4 separate regions of the Homo sapiens genome follow, and regions 1, 3 and 4 are each linked to region 2. Evidence: promoter capture Hi-C in human tissues and cell types (Jung and others, 2019). All regions are on one chromosome and are shown on one strand. Each heading gives the region's core, a stretch centred on a gene start or on the middle of the fragment in contact. The rest is flanking DNA. Distances are from core to core; before and after follow the strand shown. Region 1 has its middle 120 kb from the start of KCNMA1-AS1. Region 2 holds the start of ZNF503 (zinc finger protein 503). Region 3 overlaps KCNMA1 (potassium calcium-activated channel subfamily M alpha 1). Region 4 overlaps LRMDA (leucine rich melanocyte differentiation associated).

What was found. Contacts are between HindIII fragments. The study calls those that stand out against the background at their distance.
Region 1: a contact is called between a fragment that was not itself captured here and the fragment with the promoter of ZNF503 in region 2, in 1 of the 25 tissues and cell types used here (dorsolateral prefrontal cortex).
Region 3: a contact is called between a fragment that was not itself captured here and the fragment with the promoter of ZNF503 in region 2, in 1 of the 25 tissues and cell types used here (lymphoblastoid cells).
Region 4: a fragment that was not itself captured here is called in contact with the fragment with the promoter of ZNF503 in region 2 in 1 of the 25 tissues and cell types used here (dorsolateral prefrontal cortex).

Annotation. Positions count from the first base shown.
Region 1 is chr10:76,770,089-76,772,931 of GRCh38, reverse strand. No RefSeq gene overlaps it. Among named protein-coding and RNA genes, the nearest start is that of KCNMA1-AS1, 120 kb to the left of the region's middle. The HindIII fragment of the contact is 4,891 bases long and covers 1-2,843 here.
Region 2 is chr10:75,400,489-75,403,652 of GRCh38, reverse strand. It overlaps ZNF503 (zinc finger protein 503), which reads left to right and starts at 1,889. Exons shown (of 2, transcript NM_032772.6): 1 at 1,889-2,548. The coding sequence starts at 2,234. It overlaps ZNF503-AS2 (ZNF503 antisense RNA 2), which reads right to left and starts at 2,125. Exons shown (of 2, transcript NR_024421.1): 1 at 1,392-2,125. RefSeq lists an enhancer at 2,387-2,887. The HindIII fragment of the contact is 17,931 bases long and covers 1-3,164 here.
Region 3 is chr10:77,077,583-77,080,832 of GRCh38, reverse strand. It overlaps KCNMA1 (potassium calcium-activated channel subfamily M alpha 1), which reads left to right. Exons shown (of 28, transcript NM_001161352.2): 13 at 1,283-1,352. Among named protein-coding and RNA genes, the nearest start is that of KCNMA1-AS2, 62 kb to the left of the region's middle. The HindIII fragment of the contact is 7,464 bases long and covers 1-3,250 here.
Region 4 is chr10:76,532,508-76,535,676 of GRCh38, reverse strand. The region is part of intron 6 of LRMDA (leucine rich melanocyte differentiation associated); the gene reads right to left. Among named protein-coding and RNA genes, the nearest start is that of KCNMA1-AS1, 350 kb to the left of the region's middle. The HindIII fragment of the contact is 3,476 bases long and covers 1-3,169 here.

The DNA of each region.
Region 1 (2,843 bases), core at 54-2,553, 1.4 Mb before region 2:
AAAGCACAAATCATGGAACACCAGCATATTATGAGAAATGACCAAATTCAACTTCCTTGTTTTGCATATTGAAAAACCAATGCTGAGCTTCCCAAAGAGAACAAGAACCTGAGGACATCACCCTTCTTGGAGCATCTCTGTTGAGTGGAAAGGGTAAACTTGGAAAGTCTGTCTCTTTTTGCTAAGGGCACTGCAGTTTAGTTCAAGACACTCTGGGATGATCCCAGGATGTCCTCCCTTTTTCTCCATGACCTTGGTTCAAAGGTGGGGGCCTTTCTTGACTCCTTGGTTAATGCAGAGGCAGATCAGACCCTTCTATCCTCTCTGCTCCCAGGCTGTTCAGGCCACCAAGCTGCCTCAGCCTTTATCATAGGTCGGTGCATGTGTTTATATGTCCATTTCCTTCTACTGAAGATTTCCCAAATGATATAAATAAATGTCTTTCCAACAAAGAGAGTCTGTGGTCAACTCATTGTTGAAATGCAGAGTCAATGAGGTCTCTCTAGGACTTCTTAGCACATTGAATATGCCTTTGTGCATTGTGGATCTCCATCAGGGTAATAGGTGGTAGGTAGAAATTCACACATTTTTGACCCAGAAACTTCTGTTGTTAGGGCATAGCAGGTGGCCCCTTGAAAAATACTGCTTTATCTCAGTTTGAATGCCCTGTACCCAGTTATCATGTGTTAGTCTTCTTTGTGCCCAAAACATATAGCACTACACTGAGTACATGACAAGTTAGGAAACATATTTAACGAAAAAAAGAGTCAAGTTATGTATTTTTTCAAATTCTCAATTTGTTCATCTTAGACCTAAGATTAAATGTTATTTTGCTTGGTGGTTTTAAAGTGTTGGAAAGGAGGAGTATTTGAATGAACATAAATTGATAAACTGGAAAACACTTGGTATAGTTTGTGTTGCCATCAATATCACTACTACCACTATCATTCTATTACTACTAATAAGTGATTCATGGAGAATTATTTCTTTTAACCCTTCCTCTATAAGTATTACATATAGCTCCTAAGTTTTCTTATGTGTGTGTGTGTGTGTATATATATATATATATATATATATATACATACATACATACACATACATACATATATATATATATATATATATATATGTAGTTTTAGACTGGCATATGTTCTAAGAAATGTGATATTAGGCCATCTCATGGTGGTGCAAACAACGTAGAGTGCACTTACACAAACCAGGATGGTATTGCCTACTACACACCTAGGCTATATGGTATGGCCTATTGCGCCTACACTACAGACCTCTACAGTATATCACTGTACTGAATACTGTAGGCAATGATAACACAATGTTATTTGTGTATCTAAAGGCAGAAAAGGAAGAGTAAAAATACAGCATAAAAGATAGGAAGTGGTACACCTTTACAGGATACTTACCATGAATGGAGCTTGCAGGACTGGAAATTGCTCTGGGTGAGGCTATGAGTGAATGTGAAGGCCTAGGACGTTACTGTACACTACTGTAGACTTTATAAACAAGTATACTGAGGTTATACTAAATTTACAAAAATATTTTTCTTTTTCCATAATAAATTAACGTTAACTTACTGTAACTTTTTAACTTTATAAACTTTTAATTTTTTTAAAACTTTGTGACCCTTGTGTGGTAACAGCTTAAAACAGAAACACAGCTCACACTTGTGCAAAGATATTTTCTTTCTTCATATCCTTATTTGATAAGCTTTTTTCTATTAACTTTTTTAAAACTTCTTAAATATTTTGGTTAAAAACTAAGATGCAGACACACACATTAGACTAGGCCTCCACAGAGTTAGGGTCATCAATATCACTGTCTTCCACTCCCACATCTTGTCCCATTGAAAGGTCTTTTGGGTCAATAACATACATGGAGCTGTCATCTCCTATGATACCAATGCCTTCTTGGGTTACCTCCTGAAGGGCCTGTCTAAGGCTGTTATGAAGCTAAATTTTTTTAAAAAAGTAATATAAGGAGATACTCTAACGTAACAATAAAAAGTATAGTATAGTAAATACATAAATCAGTAACATGGTGGTTTATTATCATCTTCAAGTATTATGAGGCAGGTGCAGTGGCTCAAGCCTATAATCCCAGCACTCTGGGAGGCCAAAGTGGGTGGATCTCTTGAGCTCAGTGTCTACTAAAAATACAAAAAATTAGCCAGGAATGGTAGTGCAAGCCTGTGGTCCCAGCTACTTGTGGGGGCTGAGGGGGGAGATCACTGGACCCCAGAGGCAGAAGTCGCAGTGAGCCAAGATCGCACCACTGCACTCCAGCCTGGGTGACAGTGAGACCTTGTCTCAAAAAAAAATATTTATGTCCTATGCATAATTGTATGTGCTACACATTTATACAACTTGCAGTGCAGTAGGTTTGTTTATACCAGAGTCACCACAATTACATGAGTAATGCATTGTTTTATGTTACCACCGTTCCATCATTAGGCAACAGGAATTTTTCAGTTCCACTATAATCTTATGGAATCACCATTGCACATGTGGTCCGACATTGATTAAAATGTCATTACACAATGCATGACTATAGAATCAGGTATAAAACACAGTTGAATGGATCATTTACTGAATTCTTGCTTTCCAAGTAGCCTATGCCTGAGAAAAAATAGTACCCATGTATCTAAATAAATATTCAATTGCAAACCTCATTCATCTAGTTGTAATTTTTGATAATTGTTATTACTATAATCATATATATGATCATTATTACTACAACTAAATGTGTGTGTATAAGTGTGTTGTATATTTATGTGTATATGTATATACACATATGATGACATGTGTCATTTATTGAGCAACTATTATGTG
Region 2 (3,164 bases), core at 640-3,139:
ACCCGCTCCGGACGCTATCAGAGCCCCGATAACTCACGCAGCGCCACAGGCATGCATACACACTGGGCATCCAGGTCCAGGTACCCGGTGGCACGCACAGCGCCTCCCCTTTTCTTCCCAAACAACCCGAGTGACGGTGCAAATCGAGGGGAACGCGGCAGTCCCGCTCCGCTTCCCTGGAAGAACCCGCGTTCCCACAGGCAGCCGCCCCCTCCCTCTCTCGCTCCTTCCCTCGGCTCTCCTAGCGCAGCTCATTCCGACTCGGCGTTCCAATAAATTCGAGAGAGCAGCCCCGAGTTACCCTGGCTCCCCAGCCTGCGGGGATGGCGGCAGGTGGGAGAAGGTCGGGGAGGGGGCATGAGTGAGCCTGAGATGTTTCTTCCCCCATACACCCATGGCCAGGCCTCTTCTTCGCAGCCTCTTAGCCCTGCTTACGACCCGAGGGGGTCAAAGAATTGAGGCGAGGTTTGCCCCACCATTGACCTCCAGGACTAGAAGTTCCTTGGTGGTGTGGCTCTTAGAAGTCTCCGAGTTTGGGGTTAGGGAACTACAGAGGGTGGCAGCCTGACCTCCGCACGCAACACGCCCCGCGAGGACTCGCGGCGGCGGGGTGGGGTGGCGGGAAATCTCCCGTGTTAGAAGTTGCCGCCGCTGGTCTCGGGTACCCGGAGCCGCGCCCGAACTCCGCGACCCCAACAGACCGAGGCTCCCAGAGGTGGAAGGGCGTCTCTCCGACACCGAGAGGGCAGGCGCACACTCCAGGCCTGCGCGCCCCTCTCGGCGCCCTGGGCGCACCTGCGCACTTTACTCTCGCTATTCATTTTCCTGACACCGTGCGCCTCTTTCATTCTTTTTCTTAGAGCCCCCACCCCACCCCCATCCCAGGAGGCCGCTCCTCTTTTCCCCTCCTCCAGTTCCCTCTCAATCTCCTCCTTCCTCTCCGTCTCTCTCTCCCTCTCTCTTTTTCCCTTCAAGTCGCACCCGCCTTGTAATCAGCAACAAAAGCTGACATAAATCACGGGAGGATTGACAAGAGCTGACAAATAACTGATTGATTGCGGTCGAGGAACATTGACAATTGATGGAGGGGTGGAGATGCCCAAAGAAGGGGGGGAGGGAGGAAAACAGGGTGGGAGAGTAAGAATGGGGGGTTGGGGGACAGACTGAGGGTGAAACAGAGGAAACATGTGACCCCCGCTGCTGCCCCAATCTACGCGTCCCCGGGCGTCACGTGGCCGGGAAGGGCGGAGAGCCCAGCGCTCCTCGCGGTGTTGAGCCGCCGCCGCTGCGACTGCCCATCTAGCTTCTGGTTTCTCCGCCGCGGAATCTGAGGAAATTAGAGCGGGCGGGCGGGCTTCTTCCAGCTCCGGCTCCCCACCTTGCCTTCTTACCCTGGTGGCTGCGCTGCGCCGCGCGGGATCTCGATTACTGCGAAGGAAAAAACACTGGGTGTGCAGGTTCCCTTCGCCCCTGGAGTTGACAGTCCGGCCGGTGTCCACACTCCCACCGGTGCTCCTTCTGGACACCCCCCGCAGTCTGTTCCTCACGCGCACCCCCCTTCAAAAGAAGGTTTCAGTTTATTTTCGAGCTGGGGAAAGGAAGAACGACGAGGAGGAAAAAAGAGGGAGGCGGCGGATGGCAAACGTAGAATAAATGTCCATCTCGTCCTCCCAGCGAAATCGAGGGAGGGGACACACAGGGGGGCGGCGAAGAGGGAGCTGCCCATTAAAACCGGCACTGAGAGTCCTGGCAGCGGCGGCGGCGGCGGCGCGGGACGCGTCACATCCCCTTGACCCTCCAATCACCTCGGGCTCCCATTTGATTGGAAGGCGGCAAAGGCTTTAATCTCCCCCTTGGTGCAGCTGCTTTTGAAGTGAGTTTCCTCGCCAGAGCCCCGGCTGGACACGCAGCGGCTCGCATCGCAGAGCGCAGCGCCGGCGCGGGGCCGCGAGAACGCAGCGCAGGGGAGCAGCCCGAGGCGGACACCGCGAGCCGCCCGGCACTCCCGCAGTCCAGCCGGCTCCTCTAGCCCGGCCACGGCTCCGCTGCGGGCCACCCAGGATTACTCGCGTCTGGCTCCAGGCGCCGAGAAGGCGCGCTGGGCGCCCGTGGCCGCCGCGCCAGCTCCTCCTCCTCCCGCTGCTCCTGCTCCCGGGGCGAGCGCGCAGCCCCGAGCCCGCCCCGCGCCTCCCGGAGCCCTCCCCCCCGCTGCTCCCATGCGCGCGGGTGGGTCATGAGCACAGCGCCCTCGCTTTCTGCCCTAAGAAGCAGTAAGCACAGCGGCGGCGGCGGCGGCGGAGGCGGAGGCGGCGGTGCAGACCCTGCCTGGACCAGCGCGCTCTCTGGAAATAGCTCCGGCCCCGGCCCAGGCTCGTCCCCGGCCGGCAGCACCAAGCCTTTTGTGCACGCCGTGCCCCCCTCTGACCCCCTGCGCCAGGCCAACCGCCTGCCAATCAAGGTGCTGAAGATGCTGACGGCACGAACTGGCCACATTTTGCACCCCGAGTACCTGCAGCCCCTGCCTTCCACGCCGGTCAGCCCCATCGAGGTAAGGACCCTCTCTCTGGATCGCACTGGGACCACTACCCTGGCTGCCACCCTAGGGCTTTCTTTTTCTCGGGATCTGGGCGGAGGTGGGGGGGTCGGAGTGATTCAGCTCCCGAATGGGGGAAGAGGCTACTGCTTCCGTACCTCAAAACTAGGGCGGAAAAGGGGGAGGAAGTGGAATGGGGCGTGCATGCTAGGGAGCAAGGCTGCCAATACTTGTTTCTCCTTTCGATATGAAAGCCCCTACCCCGACCCAGGCCCCTTCACTCGGCACCGAAGGCAGGCGGAGGTCTGAAATACGGTTCCAAAGTCGCCGTCCTTCGTATCCGCAGAAGCCAGTGTGTGCACACAGCCTCTGAGGCGCCAGCCGCCCGAGCCCTTACTCTGAAGAATTAAGGAGTGTTTGTGGGGAGGGGGTACAGTTCTGGGTCTAGGAACCGAAAACCAAAACATTTTGCTCTTTAAAAATCTAGTTAGCGCTCAGAGAGGGCAGGAAAGATGCTGCTGGGGGTGGTGGTTGGGCGGGGGGAGCAATCTGCTGCCTTTCCCAACGGCGAGAATGTTTGTGAGTGGGTGTTGAAGAGGGGGTGCCGCCTAGAATTGCGCCTTGGGGCTGG
Region 3 (3,250 bases), core at 678-3,177, 1.7 Mb before region 2:
TTTGTCATTGTTGTCTCAAGTTGTTAACTTGGAGAATTGGACTCAGCAGATTGTTTCTGGGCTAGTCCCTAGGGTGTGGGAGATTGCAAACCTCTGGAGGCCCCATGATTTGGGCTCGCTTTCGATGTCTACGTAGGCAATAAGCTGGCAGCCCCTGCTCCAGGCCCCCTACTCCCCAGTACGCACATGCATACATCCCATCTCCAATGCATTCCAAGGGGCCCTCAAATTTTTCATGCCCAGGACACAGACTGTGGCTGTTTTGTGATTTTGTTTTCACACTAGCAAGAGATATGGTGGTGGGAATACTGTTTAACCTGGCCCAGTGTCTGCAACCCCTCAGGATAGCCCTGGCTGCTGGTCCTGATGCAGGATAGGTGAGCCCCAAAATGGGGCTTAGCCCATGAAGGTTTTTAGCTTCCCCCAGAAAAGAATTCAAAGGCAAGCTGATGGTAGGGCAGAAGGAAACAGCTTTATTGAAGCAGTAGTATTACAGCTCTGTGACTGCTCCTGCACAGCGGGGCTACACCATAGAGTAGCAGCTCTGGGCAGGCTGTCGTATTTATACCTACTTTTAATTGCATGCAGATTAAGGGGCAGCTTATGCAAAAATTTCTAGGGAAGGGGTAGTAACTTCTGGGTCACCGGGTCATTGCCATAGAAAGGCAAGTCCCATGAGCCCAGTGCAGATAGAAGCAAGTTCTTTGAGCTTTCTTTCTCACTGTCCACCCAGACACTTAGGCAATCATATTAAAGGGTTTCCTCTTTCATGGCCTTCTTTGTTCCTCATGGTGGCTTCCCCAAATTGTATGTAGTGAGAGATGGAACTGGGACTGGAATTCATCCATGCATTACAACTTGCTTTCAGGAAAGGACCTGGTATGTGCCTGTAAAGTTATGTCACTATGAACATATTCCAAGAGATAGTTGATTTCATAATTGGACAACGGGCTTGAAATATGAAGCATTTCAATCCCCTATGATCTAGTAATAGTAATGTTCTAGGGCCTAGAGGTTATAGGGAACCTCCTGGGTGTTGCCATGGCAATGGTAAACTGACAGGGCACACTGCTGGGCTTGTCCAGTGAAAAGTTGCTTCTGCCCCATCCCTGTTTCAGCTAGTCTTCAATTTTGTCTGGTATCTGAGCCCTGCCTCTGGAATCAAGTCCTGCCTCCTACCTCAGTCCCATGGGTACCCCATTTGGAGACAGTAAAATTGATCTTTTTGTCAGACACCATGCATAAGGCAGACCTGTCTCAGCATTGGTTCTTTCTTTTTCAGAGTAATCTCCATAAAGAACTACCATCCGAAGATAAGAATCATCACTCAAATGCTGCAGTATCACAACAAGGTAGGAGTGCGAGAGCCCGCTCCAGGTCTGAAGACCCATCCACAGGTCCAGCCTCTTCTTCCTCATTATACAGGCTCACACACACACACACACACACACACACACACACACTCTCACATGCCCACATGTGCGCAACTCAAAGACCTGGGTAAAGAGGTGTGATTGTTAAAAATCTTCCTGGGACATTTCTTTCTTTCTTTCTTTTTTTTTGGGATGGAGTCTTGCTCTTGTTGCCCAGGCTGGAGTGCAATGGCATGATCTTGACTCCCCACAACCTCCACCTCCCAAGTTCAAGCAATTCTCCTGCCTCTGCCTCTTGAGTAGCTGGGATTACAGGCATGCGCCACCATGCCAGGCTGATTTTGTACTTTTAGTAGAGATGGGGTTTCTGCATGTTGGTCAGGATGGTCTCGAACTCCCAACCTCAGGTGATCTGCCCGCCTCGGCCTCCCAAAGTGCTGGGATTACAGGCATGAGCCACCACGCCTCTGGCCCATTTCTTTAGTCCAAACAACGTGTTTGCATTTGGTCACTGGAAGGATGCTCCTTCATGTACTGATTCATTCATTCGGGAAGTGTCTATTGGAACCCGAGGTTCAGAACTATTGATTTACTCTTGGATCCCATCCATACTTAAGTTACAACAACTTTTATTTGTATGTGCTGCAGTCATTTACTTATTCAGTAAATATTTATTGAATACATACTGTGTGATTAGCACTCTCCCTGACACCCACAGGAATATCAGTGAAGGAGAAGCCCTATTTTGTGTCCTCGGGGATTTAGCAGTTAAGGTGTAGAATGCTCCAGGCAAGTGAGTGATAGGATTTCTCTATCTGAGACCAGGTGAACTAGTGAGTGCATAATGCGCTCTGTAAGAGTGTAATGTGGGACACATTCCCAGAGTCGAGATGAGAATTTGCAGAGTTGAATCAGGAAAATAGTAAGCTATCCAGAGATTAAAGAGAAAGGAATTTTCCTTGTGTTATAGCTTACAGTGGGGGATTGATTAGAAAGAAGACAAAAGTCAGAGTCTATGCTGTTTCCCTGTGATTACTTCTCAGTAAACCAGAGTCCAGTGTCTCATTCAAAGGCAGTGCTCCTTCTCTCAGCCAGTCAATAAACTTCCAAAAAAACAGCTTTAGGGGAGGGAAGGTGGCACCTTTCTCCATTTGATGCAGTACCAGTTATGTCCTTAATGAAACCTAGAAACCGGAGGCTGCCCAGTACCTGGAGCCAGGTGTCCTGTCTGTACAGAATAACTCGCTGCTGGGTTATGAGTAACAGCGTACCCCCTCTTATGGGCCATATTCCCTATGAAATAGGCAGTCAGGTGATGCAGAGAAAAACCCCATTCTGCCAAATGCACCAGTGCCATGCCGTTATTTCTTAATTGCTGGCAAGTGCTGGCCCATTTTGCTGTGTGGAGGCCCATCAGAGGCTGTCACTGAGTGGAGCCTGCTGTCAGTGACTGGCCCACCATCCAGAACGGCTGACTGCTGCCAGCCACTGCCCAGCCCTCGGCAGGTGGCTCCCTTGCAGAACGTGTTGTTCTCCAGCCAACGGATTTGGTGGTGGGCACCCAAGGTCACATTCGCCTGTTTGTCTCTGGAAAACCCAAGGACACTGAAGAGATAAAGTGAGGATATTGGTAATGTACGGGTGTCAAGCTGGAGAAGTTTTTGATGGCAGCCCTTGTAGGTGGAGGTGAATTTTATTAGCAAGGCTGTGACTAGTGACAGCTCCTGCAGCAACGAGCTCTCCTTCTTTCATTTGTGATCTGAAATTTCATTTAGTGTGGGAGTGCTTTAAGCTGTTGTTTAGATTTTTGGCTGAATTTAGATTGAATAGGAAAATTAATGTTGTATGTTTAGAAGGGGTTGTCAGTTCCTTTTTTT
Region 4 (3,169 bases), core at 349-2,848, 1.1 Mb before region 2:
ATGTATGTTTAATGTACTATTTTTCCAACTTTTCTGTAGGCTTGAAAATTTTCACAGTAATAATTTAGGAGGAAGAGGCTTGTTTTTCTTGGCATATGAACTTTTAATTGGAGATAACTGACCCCATGAGCAGTTTTCAAGTCTCTATCAATTTTTATTAATCTGTATAATGGGCTTCTCTTCTATTAGAAGAGTCCTATTTAAGTGACCTATTTAAGCATTATAAGCTAACAAAAGATTATGATCATTTTAGGCCAACGCATCTTCTGCAAACAGCAATCAGTTGTTTAAAAAATTAGTTAAGAATGGGAAATTATTTGTCCCTCCCCACCTCAATGCCTTCATCCTCTGCCTTCCTCTTCTTCCAACCCCCTCAAGAGCATATATTCCACATATATAATGCATCCTTCTTTTATTCCTTCCTTCCCTCCTTCTTTCACAAAAATGCATAAGACCCATGTTTAATTTGCATTACAAAATGCCTGACTTGAAAAGTTATTTTCTGGTCATGGACTCATGCTTTCTTACATGACACAACTATTTACTGAGAGTCTACGATGTGCTGGGCAATATCCTGGTAGCTAGGGATACGGCAGTGTATCCCTGTGTGAGGATATGCAAGGCTATTGCCTGGCACATAGCAAAGTCTTAGGTCACAGACACTATAATCTGCTGGTGGAAGACAGGCAAGGAAAGCAAGCAGACAAAATTTAGAAACAAACAACTATAATAATTTTAGACATAAATATCATGGAGGTAGTATAATGGGGTGGGTGGATAGAACTAAGAAACAGAATACCTAGATGCTGGTACTAGCTCCTCTGTAGTTCAGGTTTGCAAATTTTGGCAGGTCACATGACTTATGTGAGATCCAGTGTTCATATTTTGAATGGCAATAATAATCTTTGTCAATATACCCCCGCAAGGTGACAATGAGAAACTTCAGCTTCTGAATGACATGTATTATCATTGCCAAATGATAATATTTTTTGGAATATGCCTTGATAATCTGTCATAATTTTTATAATGAGCCATCTTATAACTATCCTGTTACTGCATTAACAAGGATTATACAAGCTGCTGTAACAAATAAGTCCCAAAATTTCAGTGGCCCAACACAATAGAAGTTTACATCTTTCTTACTCAAAAGGCCAATACAGGCAATTTCCTCCAGGTGTAATTTTTGTGGCTCTGCCTTCTCCTATTGAGTCCTCTCATTTGCATCAGGCCAGTGGAAAGGGAAAGAATGTGGAAGAGGCACAGCCATTTCTCAAAAGCCTTGGTCATGAACTGCCACGCATCCCTTCCACGAACATTTCATTGGCTAAAATACACACATGTGGCCATATCTTTCACGAGTGTGACACACTCATGTGACCTCTCCTAACTGCAAAGGAGAATGAAATGAAGTCTAGCTTGGTACCCCAAAAGCAGGAGAAAATGTGGATTTTTGTGAGCAAAAAGCAATCTCTGATATTATGATTACATTTTTTCACATTCTTCCTTAATATGTAATAATGTAATATGTTAAAGAGAATGGAAAGGTTAATTTTACTGTGAGTTATGGGCCAACTATGTACCAAACATAATACTATATTAGTGCCTTGACCTGTGGGGCAAAGCACAGGATCTATCACAGTGTCTGGCACATAACACAGTACGTATTCATAGGTCAATGAATGAGCATCCCACTAGATTCCAAGCTTCATGAGAACAAGAAGTCTGATCTGTCTACAGTCTACTGCAGTCACTTAAGAGCCTGGCACTGTGCCCAGCATGTAGTAACCAGTAAATATGTTAAGGATTTATGCTTTGAAACCTAAAATTATAATATATTTTGTTTCTCAAGTTGAGCATATACATTACAGGATACTCTTGGAGCAAAACATTGATGACATATTTTGCCATGTTAGAGTAGTTCCAAGCCATCCAGCCTTTACCTAAATACTCAGGAATACTTAAATAACTGGCAATGCTGCAGAACCATTATAGCTGTATTTTAGTATCAAAGTATAATAAGCAAGTAAAGTAGACAGTGTCTATTCTTAAAATAGAAATCCATAGGTGCCTTTAACTGAAAATTAAAAACAAATGACCCTAACTTCCAAAGAGCCTCCGTTAATTAATTAAAGCAATGAGTTTGCAAGCTCCTGAATGACAGCAAGTTGTTCTTGGAGGCCAGCATGGGTGTGTAAGAGCAAAAGAAACCAGCAACAATTTCAACAATGAACATAAAGTCAGGTCTTATATGATAAAGATCTAAACACAGTTAACCAAGAAGGGAAAGAAGTGCTCATGACTTTACACAAAGGCATTGTTTTTCATGGTAGAATCAAAGTGCAATGAATCCAGTTGAATCCGGATATAGGAACTGAAGTTGGCCTGTCATGGTCAATATACTCAAGGTAAAATTTAGAATAATCACAATCAACTGGTTTTAGGACAGATTCAATAATATCCTATTTGAAACTAATAGTTACACTTTACAGGTGTTTGTGATTCATTCTCTCTCTCGCTCTCTCTCACTCTCGCTCTCGCTCTCCATCTACAAGTGGTTATTTTTGTTTTGTTACTGGAATGTCAACATTCAAATTAAGATCCATTTCAAAGGCTGCATCTTCTTTGAATAAGAAATTTATTTGTTATTACAACTATGAAAATAATTTAAATAAAAATGGGATATAAAACTCTGAGAATCACCAGGAAGCCATAATTTAACATAAAATCCACTCTGTAGCAAGATCGTAAGAGGCATGTCATATTCATCTGAGAAACACACAATTAGAAGAACTGTGATAACTAAAGCAATGTAACTTTTAAATTTACCATTCAGATTTTGGTTTTCCCAATCAAAAGAAGAAAACAATGCATTCCTAAAGTAAAGGTTCTAACCCTAGGAAAAGCTGAAATGGCTTGTTCCTCCAAACCTCCCATGATGATTCACATGACAAGACTCCTCTTTGCCAAATAAAACTCTCCTTATCATTCAAGGCCCAAATAAAATGCCATTTCTTCTTAGAAGACTTCTCTGATTTCCCCTTGGCAGAATTAATGGTTCCTTGTTTTCTCTTTCTGTGCACTACCCATCACACAACCACTACACATATCCCACTGCAGCACAGTCAAGCATTTGATTGCTATTACTCCCTCTTAAAAGAAATTTACTTGA